Linked DNA regions of Homo sapiens: region 2 is linked to region 1. Evidence: promoter capture Hi-C in human tissues and cell types (Jung and others, 2019). All regions are on one chromosome and are shown on one strand. The core of a region is centred on a gene start or on the middle of the fragment in contact, and the rest is flanking DNA. Distances in the headings are between cores, read along the strand shown. Region 1 holds the start of CRTC2 (CREB regulated transcription coactivator 2). Region 2 holds the start of NUP210L (nucleoporin 210 like).

Region 1 (4,821 bases), core at 1,095-3,594:
CTACACGTAACACTGTGAGTGACACCATAATCTGTGTGTACGTATCATTCTGTGTCAGTGTTACCAATTCACTCTATCTTTGTGTGACTGAGAGTAGCCCTGTGTCTGTGTCAGACCCTAGGTCTGTGTAACTGGGCTTTCACCAGATTTTGCATCTCACTCTTCCTTCCCTGAACATTTTGCTGCTGCTTCTGCCCACAGCTCCAGTTCCCACTGCAAGAGTTCATCCTGGCCATGGGCTTCTTCCTGGTCCTGGTGATGGAGCAGATCACACTGGCTTACAAGGAGCAGTCAGGGCCGTCACCTCTGGAGGAAACAAGGGCTCTGCTGGGAACAGTGAATGGTGGGCCGCAGCATTGGCATGATGGGCCAGGGGTCCCACAGGCGAGTGGAGCCCCAGCAACCCCCTCAGCCTTGCGTGCCTGTGTACTGGTGTTCTCCCTGGCCCTCCACTCCGTGTTCGAGGGGCTGGCGGTAGGGCTGCAGCGAGACCGGGCTCGGGCCATGGAGCTGTGCCTGGCTTTGCTGCTCCACAAGGGCATCCTGGCTGTCAGCCTGTCCCTGCGGCTGTTGCAGAGCCACCTTAGGGCACAGGTGGTGGCTGGCTGTGGGATCCTCTTCTCATGCATGACACCTCTAGGCATCGGGCTGGGTGCAGCTCTGGCAGAGTCGGCAGGACCTCTGCACCAGCTGGCCCAGTCTGTGCTAGAGGGCATGGCAGCTGGCACCTTTCTCTATATCACCTTTCTGGAAATCCTGCCCCAGGAGCTGGCCAGTTCTGAGCAAAGGATCCTCAAGGTCATTCTGCTCCTAGCAGGCTTTGCCCTGCTCACTGGCCTGCTCTTCATCCAAATCTAGGGGGCTTCAAGAGAGGGGCAGGGGAGATTGATGATCAGGTGCCCCTGTTCTCCCTTCCCTCCCCCAGTTGTGGGGAATAGGAAGGAAAGGGGAAGGGAAATACTGAGGACCAAAAAGTTCTCTGGGAGCTAAAGATAGAGCCTTTGGGGCTATCTGACTAATGAGAGGGAAGTGGGCAGACAAGAGGCTGGCCCCAGTCCCAAGGAACAAGAGATGGTCAAGTCGCTAGAGACATATCAGGGGACATTAGGATTGGGGAAGACACTTGACTGCTAGAATCAGAGGTTGGACACTATACATAAGGACAGGCTCACATGGGAGGCTGGAGGTGGGTACCCAGCTGCTGTGGAACGGGTATGGACAGGTCATAAACCTAGAGTCAGTGTCCTGTTGGTCCTAGCCCATTTCAGCACCCTGCCACTTGGAGTGGACCCCTCCTACTCTTCTTAGCGCCTACCCTCATACCTATCTCCCTCCTCCCATCTCCTAGGGGACTGGCGCCAAATGGTCTCTCCCTGCCAATTTTGGTATCTTCTCTGGCCTCTCCAGTCCTGCTTACTCCTCTATTTTTAAAGTGCCAAACAAATCCCCTTCCTCTTTCTCAAAGCACAGTAATGTGGCACTGAGCCCTACCCAGCACCTCAGTGAAGGGGGCCTGCTTGCTCTTTATTTTGGTCCCGGATCCTGGGGTGGGGCAGAAATATTTTCTGGGCTGGGGTAGGAGGAAGGTTGTTGCAGCCATCTACTGCTGCTGTACCCTAGGAATATGGGGACATGGACATGGTGTCCCATGCCCAGATGATAAACACTGAGCTGCCAAAACATTTTTTTAAATACACCCGAGGAGCCCAAGGGGGAAGGGCAATGCCTACCCCCAGCGTTATTTTTGGGGAGGGAGGGCTGTGCATAGGGACATATTCTTTAGAATCTATTTTATTAACTGACCTGTTTTGGGACCTGTTACCCAAATAAAAGATGTTTCTAGACATCTGTACAGTATCTGATTCGTTTGTTTTGGGAAAGGGGTGGGCATGTGGCCAGCCTGAGAGGGCCTGAGTCCCAGATGTTTACAGCTGTTTTAAGATTCTTGGTCTCACTGTTTTCACTCAGGACCCGATAGTCCCCTTCCCTGAAGATGACCTAATTTTTCCTCCTTTGTGTCTTGGTACTTCTTTCCCGGTCTCCACCCCTCGGCTTCCCTTCTCTTCCCTCCCCTCCCTCTTCCTTTCTTCTCTCTTCAATCCCTCTCTCCTTTCCGTTCGTAGTCTCAGGGCTAATTTAGAACTACTCTTCCCAGCTTGCACCTCTCAGGGAGTAGCCGAGAGGGTGGAGCCAAGTCCCCAGTTTCCGGAGTCAGCAGGGCTGCTGGGAAGTGGAGTCCGTTTCCTCCTAGTGCTGCGTGACTGGGGATGTGAAGGAGTCTCGTAAACAAACTACAATTCCCGGCGGCCCCCGCGCGCAACAGGTCAGGGCTAGGCTGGGGCCGGGTTCGCGGTGCTCGCTGAGGCGGCGGTGGCTACGGCTGGAGGAGCCGGGCCGAGGCCGCGGCGGAGGCCGCGGCTGGTACTGGGAGGGTGGCAGGGAGGGACGGGGAAGGAAGATGGCGACGTCGGGGGCGAACGGGCCTGGTTCGGCCACGGCCTCGGCTTCCAATCCGCGCAAATTTAGTGAGAAGATTGCGCTGCAGAAGCAGCGTCAGGCCGAGGAGACGGCGGCCTTCGAGGAGGTGATGATGGACATCGGCTCCACCCGGGTGAGGGGCCGCGCCGGGGAGCCGGAGCAGAGCTGAGCAGTTACGGAGCGGAGACCGGAGAGGCGGGGCGGGGGCGGGCGCCGCAGCGAAGGAGGCGGAACAGAGCAGGGGACGCGGGCGCCGCCGTTTGGGAGGCGCAGGTTGAGGGCCGAGGGGCAGGAAGAAGGATTTTGCCGGGGGAGACCGAAACACCGGAGAGGTTCGGGGTGTAGAGGCGACTGGGGGCCGAGTACGTGAGGTGGGAGTGGGCGGAGAGGGGAGATGAAGTCCGGCGGAGGTAGGAGGTGAGTGGTCCTTGTGCATCCCTGACGGAGTCCCCTCGAGGACGCTACTGAAGCATGCCTGGTATTGGGGTATGGCCTGGGAGGAGGGCTGCTTGTCTGTAACCTGGCTCCTCTGAGTTTGTGATCTCCTCCAAACTGGTCCCTCTGCCTTCTGCGCTTTGGTGCCCCCGGGAAAGGGCCCCTTGAGTGGTTTGAACGAGCGGTGCTGTGTATAGTGGGGCAGGAAGTCCCCTCCTGCGTCCCGTCCTTTTGCTTCCTTTTTCAAATACTTCTTGTGGTTTCCTGACGTGAATGAAGGTGAGGTCCATTGCTTGGTGTTTTGTCCTGGCCTCCTTGGAGGAGAGGTAGGGTTTTGAATCCGACAACTGGGTAACCGTCCGACCATAAGTTGTGTGGAACTCTATGGTTTGCTGAGCTTTCTAGGGAGTTGGCTGCTTTGTGGGTTAGTGTGTAGGGTGCCTTGGAGGGTCTTCTATGTGTTGAGAATATTCATTCCTAGGAGTTCTTGAAAGAACTTTCAGGCCTCTGCCAGGCTGCCTCTGAAGCCCCCCTGGCTTGGTTTCTTGCTTTCCAAGGCTGGAGGTCAGAGGGACCAAGGGGTAGGAGTCCGCCTAGGTGGTATGCAGTCTTAATTTAGGGACACATTCTTCTAAAACAACAGTAGGTAAGGATATTGCAATGATTCCTCATGGCAGAGAGCTAGAAGGAATTTAAGGATTGATGGTGGAACATTACTACAACATCTCTAGCCTTTTTCTGCTGGTCTGACTGTGGTTGCATTTATGACTGTGACTCTGGTTGTATTTTTGTGTGTATCCCCCTTGACTCTGTTACTTTTTTTTTTTTCTCGTCCTTTCCCCTTTGAGTCTCTAGGGACTATGTGCCCTAGTTTGTGGGAGTCAGAAGTTAGGTGGGGAGGCAAATCTGGGAGGGTGTCTGTGCACGCATGTGCACACTTAAATGCATGTGTGTGCATAACCCACTGTAACCATTGTGAGGATTATTATCTAACTGTAGACTGCTCCCCTTTAGGAGCTTTTTCATCATGTTGGGGACAGAGACAGGAAGATGGGAGGCTGATCTTGATAGCGTGAGGCCCTGCCCTCAGGACTGTGATTCTAGCAGAGGCATGGTGGGATCTTAGGGCTCGTATGTGCAAAGAAAGGCTGTGCGAAACTCAAAAGCTGGGGCTTCTCTTTACGGTGCCTCGATCTCTTAAAAGGCCCCTTCTACCCACCTTGCTCCTATTGGTTAATTTCTCAGCTACACAGAAAAGTCTAGTGGGCATACATGGCCAGGGGACCCAAAAGTCTAGAGCTAGGGACAAGAGATCTGGGACTCAGCCTGTTATCTGGCCAGGTGGGAGGGCTCATTTGAGACAGAGATGGCCATGGGAGGCTATACCACTGAGATACTGGGGTTGCCATATATGAGACCTCAAGTGGTCTTCAAGTGGTCCAGAGGTCAGCACAGTGCTCACTAGGCTGACCTCCTGGAACAGAATGTCAGTTCTGATGTTGGCTTCTGTACAAGAGTGTGACCCTGGAAGCTCTTAGAACTTGCCCCTCCTCAGCTGCCCTCCTCCCCATGGCCTTGCCCTGGGCCTGTTTATTTGGCTGGTCGCAGGGGCTGAGCCTTGGAAATAGATGCTCACCTCTCACAGAGACAGGATGTCTGTACACAGGCTAAACCCATGCCAGGCTGTCTTACGCCTATGCCAGACATAGCTCCCCAAAGTGAGGATGAGACCAGGAAGATGGCCCTGGCCCATGCTGGAGTGGGCTGCTGCTCTCTGTCCACCCTCCTTCTCCAGGCTTCCCTGCCAATTCAAGAGCCTTAGGATTCAGTGGAAGAATGTCCCTTGGTTTTGGTGCTGTTTTTCCAGCTAGGAGAGCTGCTATTCCTTGGATGTTCTAGTTTGGGAGG
Region 2 (4,821 bases), core at 1,028-3,527, 200 kb before region 1:
TTACCTTTTTTGTTGTTTTGTAGCAACCATTTGTAAAACATTCCAAATAATTCCACAGTCCTGAAGCAGCAATCGAATCCCTTTCTCACTTTTGGAAGGTGACTTTTCACCTTAATGCATATTCCCCTCTCCATAGAGGAGAGGAAAAGGTGTAGGCCTGCCTTACCGAGAGCCAAACAGAGCCCAGGGAGACTCCGCTGTGGGAAACCTCATTGTTCTGTACAAAGTACTAGCTAAACCAGAAAGGTGATTCCAGGAGGAGTTAGCCAAACAACAACAAAAACAAAAAATGTGCTGTTCAAGTTTTCAGCTTTAAGATATCTTTGGATAATGTTATTTCTATTTTTTATTTTTTTCATTAGAAGTTACCAAATTAAGATGGTAAGACCTCTGAGACCAAAATTTTGTCCCATCTCTACCCCCTCACAACTGCTTACAGAATGGATCATGTCCCCCTTATGTTGAGGTGACCACTTAATTGCTTTCCTGCCTCCTTGAAAGAAAGAAAGAAAGAAGACTGTGTTTTTGCCACTGATTTAGCCATGTGAAACTCATCTCATTACCCTTTTCTGGGTTTGAAGCTGCTGTCTCTAGAAGTGCCATCTCAATTGTGCTTTGTATCAGTCAGTGCTGGAGAAATCTTGAATAGCTTATGTACAAAACTTTTTAAATTTTATATTATTTTGAAACTTTGCTTTGGGTTTGTGGCACCCTGGCCACCCCATCTGGCTGTGACAGCCTCTGCAGTCCGTGGGCTGGCAGTTTGTTGATCTTTTAAGTTTCCTTCCCTACCCAGTCCCCATTTTCTGGTAAGGTTTCTAGGAGGTCTGTTAGGTGTACATCCTGCAGCTTATTGGCTTAAAATGTACTCTCCTTTTATGTGGTCTCTTTGGGGCCGATTGGGAGAAAGAGAAATCAATAGTGCAACTGTTTTGATACTGAATATTGACAAGTGTCTTTTTGAAATAAAGAACCAGTCCCTCCAACCCTCAGACCTATTTGACTTTTATTTATTAAAACTAAATGTGCTTTCTCCACAGAAGCTATGAGGTTTGGGTTAAAAATAGCATCTTTGTGGGTGGTAGCAACAGGATTTATTCTTTATTATTATTATTTTTGAGATGAAGTTTCATTCTTGTTGCCTGGGCTGGAGCGTAATGGCTCGATCTCGGCTCACTGCAACCTCCGCCTCCTGGTTCAAGAGATTCTCCTGCCTCAGCCTCCCGAGTAGCTGGGATTACAGGCACCTGCCACCATGCCCGGGTAATTTTTTATATTTTAAGTAGAGACAGGGCTTCACCATGTTGGCCAGGCTGGTCTCGAACTCCTGACCTTCAGGTGATCCACCTGCCTCAGCTTCCCAAAATGCTGGGATTACGGGCGTGAGCCACCGCACCCAGCTGGAGCAACAGGATTTAATATAGAGCAAATGTTTAGTTTTATCATCTGTAAAATGGAGATAAGTATTGTCAGAGTAAACATGAAGATTAGAAAGAACACTTAATGTGCTGGGCCTTTTATAGGTTAACACTGACATCTCAGGCTGAACTATATACATTTTCCTTCACAACCATATCAATCCTTATAAACTATGGATTTATGCTCCTTAAAACAATATATAATGCTGATCACTACTATAAATGCGTGGTTTTAACCAACTGTACTGAAACAGCTTTGAGTTTATATTCTGTTTGGATATTTGGAGAAAACAACAAGTGCTCTCAAGAGTATTTGCTTAGAGGCCGGCTGTGTGAGTGGATAACTTTGAAAGCTGCTTTTGAGACGCCAGTGTCTGGCATTTCCTGCATTCTGGCCTGGAGGCCGGACGTGAATCTGACTTCTAGTAAAAATACACGGTTCCCTTGACAAAGTCGAGCTGTTTATCCCAGAGACTGCACAATTTTCCGTTGATAGGCATGGACCAATGCTAACTGGAAATCATTGCAAAAAGTTTTTTTGTCGGGCGGAGGGTGTGGTGTTAAGATAAACAGTGTGCAACAGAAGAAATTAAAACTGGAAGAAATTAAAGGGTTTTTTTTAGACTTTTCTGCTTGTTCCTTACTGTTAAAAAGGTCTGCCATCCAGTATTTAGGAAAGCCCTTTAAGAGAGTTTGAGGTGTTTTAGCTGGGTTTGTGCCAAAAGTTTCCATTATATTGGCTTGCTGAAGGACTGCATTTAAAAATGCCCACACATCCGAGCAAGAAGCAGGTCCCATCCCCCTCTGCTGACGTCACGCCTGTGGATTGGCTGATGGAGCTGTGAGCCGGCTGTAGTTGAGCGGGAACCCGAGACCTGGCAGTCGCCATGACTGGCTGTCCGGCGTCATCAAGACGCCGAGGCTTCGGGCTCTTTTTCTTCTTGCGTCTACACCGCCTCCTGTTGTTGTTTCTGGTTTTGCGTGGGACCCTGGCCAACAAACTTAACGTGCCACAGGTGTTGCTACCCTTCGGCCGAGAGCCAGGCCGGGTGCCTTTCCTGCTGGAGGCCCAGCGGGGCTGCTACACTTGGTGAGGGGTGGTGGGTGACAAGGATATGCACCCTCACTACCATCCAGTAAGGGTGAGGGGGGTTCCCTCTGTAAGATCCCACAGGAATACCGTGTGGGGCCGCGTGAAGGGGCCTAGCCGGTAGGGGAGGAGAGTGTGGTGTCAGTGAAGGTGGCGAGGAGCAGACCCTTGGGTGTGGCGTGTCCTACTCATGTGGTATATCCTCCAGCTGTGTGACAATCTTCCAGACGTGTGAGGAATTCTCGGGATGTGGGACTGGCCTCTTCTCTGTGTGTGTTGGGAAGGGGTGGTCACTATGAGCAGCCGTCAGGGTAAAGGGAAGCCCTGTGTTGGAGGCCACAGGTACTGATGACTTCCAATGTAAACAACTAGAGTAAGAGGAAGTTCCCCATATCTGAGGAAATTTCTGTAGGAACAGGAAAACTTGGGGTGCGAGGGTCCCCACTAACTATAGATGAGCTATTCAATGTGAGAAGGACTTAAAACACAACAGCCAAGTATTGGGGGTTAACTAAGCACTTTACATGTGTTAACTCATTCGCTTTTTGCAGTCTTATGAAGTAAGTACTATTACTCCCATTTCACAGACGAGGAAAGTGAGGCCCAGAGACTATGAAGTGTAAACTTCTGGGAATATGAGAAGATTTATCGTGGGTGGAGATGAGATCTGTCTGTATTATCAAAATTGCCCCATTTATAAAAGGGTACCCGCTTGAAGTGTGAGGACAGGGGGTACACACAACTCCGGGATAATGACTTCCTGACTGAAGATGAAGAGACATGATTTTCTGGTGTGAGAGGACCCAATGATGGGTTATGTGGTTGCCTAAGGTATGAGAGAACCTAACCGAAGTGAGCTTCAGGATGCCAGTGCATTCATCCTAGATGGAGTAGATACCCCTTTGCCATCTCCTAGGAGAAGCAATGAGGTTTGTTCCGAGTATAAATTCACCTCTCATTTTATGAGGAAGTATAAGGAAAGTGAGCTTGTAAGATGATCCAGTGTGACGTGTGTGTTTCCTGACCGTGAGGGTGATGCAAGGCATCTTTCCAGCATTGAAAGCCATTTCTTCTATCACTCCAAAAATATTAATGAGGCCAGGCATGGTGGCTCACGCCTGTAATCCCAGCACTTTGGGAGGCCAAGGCAGGAGGATTACTTGAGGCCAGGAGTTTGAGACCAGCCGGATCAACATAGTGAGACCCCGTCTCTATTTAAAATAAAAACATTCGGCCGGGCGCAGTGGCTCACGCCTGTAATCCCAGCACTTTGGGAGGCCGGGGCAGGCAGATCACTTGAAGTCAGGAGTTCAAGACCAGCCTGGCCAACATGATGAAAGCCCATCCCTACTAAAAATACAAAAATTAGTCGGGCATAGTGGCAGACACCTGTAATCTCAGCTACTCGAGAGGCTGAGGCAGGAGAATCGCTTGAACCCTGGAGGCGAATGTTGCAGTGAGCTGAGATCGCCCTGCTGCACTTCAGCTTGGGCAACAAAGTGACTCGGTCTCAAAAACATAATAATAAATAAGAATAAAAATATTTATGAATGTTTTTGGTATTTTGAGTTGGACTCACACCTCATAATTTAGGCACCTTTTCCATCCTAGATATCAGAAGCCTGGTTTCTAGGATTGAAGGAAACTTTCCTCAGAGTATGAGAAAGTCCCCTCTCATTACTAGAAACACATCAGTCGTATTTCTGCATACTGAGGGAAGAATATAAAAATCTTTTAAAAAAAATTGAGGGAGGGATATTTCTGGGACTTTGTTCAAGGGATCATTGGGAAAGTTCTCATCAATCTCTCAGTTTAATTATCGCATCCCTAAGCAATGTTCCTTCTTTAAAAAGTGTCATTTACATATACCTGGTAGTATGTAACATGGAAGAAGTGTGAGAATCTATGTTCCACTAAAAGTTAATTTTAACCCACCTATTTCACACTCTTAAGAATTTTGTTCTGGCAGGCATTCCACCCATCATGATGCAGTTACTGTTGAGCCTTTATATGAAAATGGCACCTTGTGTTCCCAAAAAGCTGTACTCATTGCTGAATCTACGCAACCGATACGCCTCAGCAGTATTATTCTTGCTCGAGAAATAGGTATGTTGAGAGCAAAAACACTATGTATCACTTCTTCTGGGGTAGAATAATCTGGTATTTTGTATAGATAGTTAACACAAATGGTGTTGGCTTCAAATGATCAAAGGGAGAATAAATGATTCCTAGCTGGCTGCAGTGGCTCACGCCTTTAATCCCAGCACTTTGGGAGGCTGAGGCAGAAAGATTGCTTGAGCTCAGGAGTTTAAG

The links. The method cuts DNA at HindIII sites, captures the fragments that hold promoters and counts their contacts. A contact is called where the count stands out against the background at its distance.
Region 2: the fragment with the promoter of NUP210L here is called in contact with the fragment with the promoter of CRTC2 in region 1 in 1 of the 25 tissues and cell types used here (aorta).

What each region holds. Positions count from the first base shown.
Region 1 is chr1:153,956,135-153,960,955 of GRCh38, reverse strand. It overlaps CRTC2 (CREB regulated transcription coactivator 2), which reads left to right and starts at 2,344. Exons shown (of 14, transcript NM_181715.3): 1 at 2,344-2,611. The coding sequence starts at 2,459. It overlaps SLC39A1 (solute carrier family 39 member 1), which reads left to right. Exons shown (of 4, transcript NM_001271958.2): 4 at 202-1,846. The coding sequence ends at 858. RefSeq lists enhancers at 2,115-2,314, 2,875-2,924, 2,935-3,154, 3,215-3,264 and a silencer at 2,565-2,714. The HindIII fragment of the contact is 13,419 bases long and covers 1-4,821 here.
Region 2 is chr1:154,152,529-154,157,349 of GRCh38, reverse strand. It overlaps NUP210L (nucleoporin 210 like), which reads left to right and starts at 2,277. Exons shown (of 40, transcript NM_207308.3): 1 at 2,277-2,508; 2 at 4,478-4,614. The coding sequence starts at 2,306. It also overlaps a transcript of TPM3 not described here. RefSeq lists a silencer at 1,159-1,336 and enhancers at 1,943-2,443, 2,444-2,944. The HindIII fragment of the contact is 16,458 bases long and covers 1-4,821 here.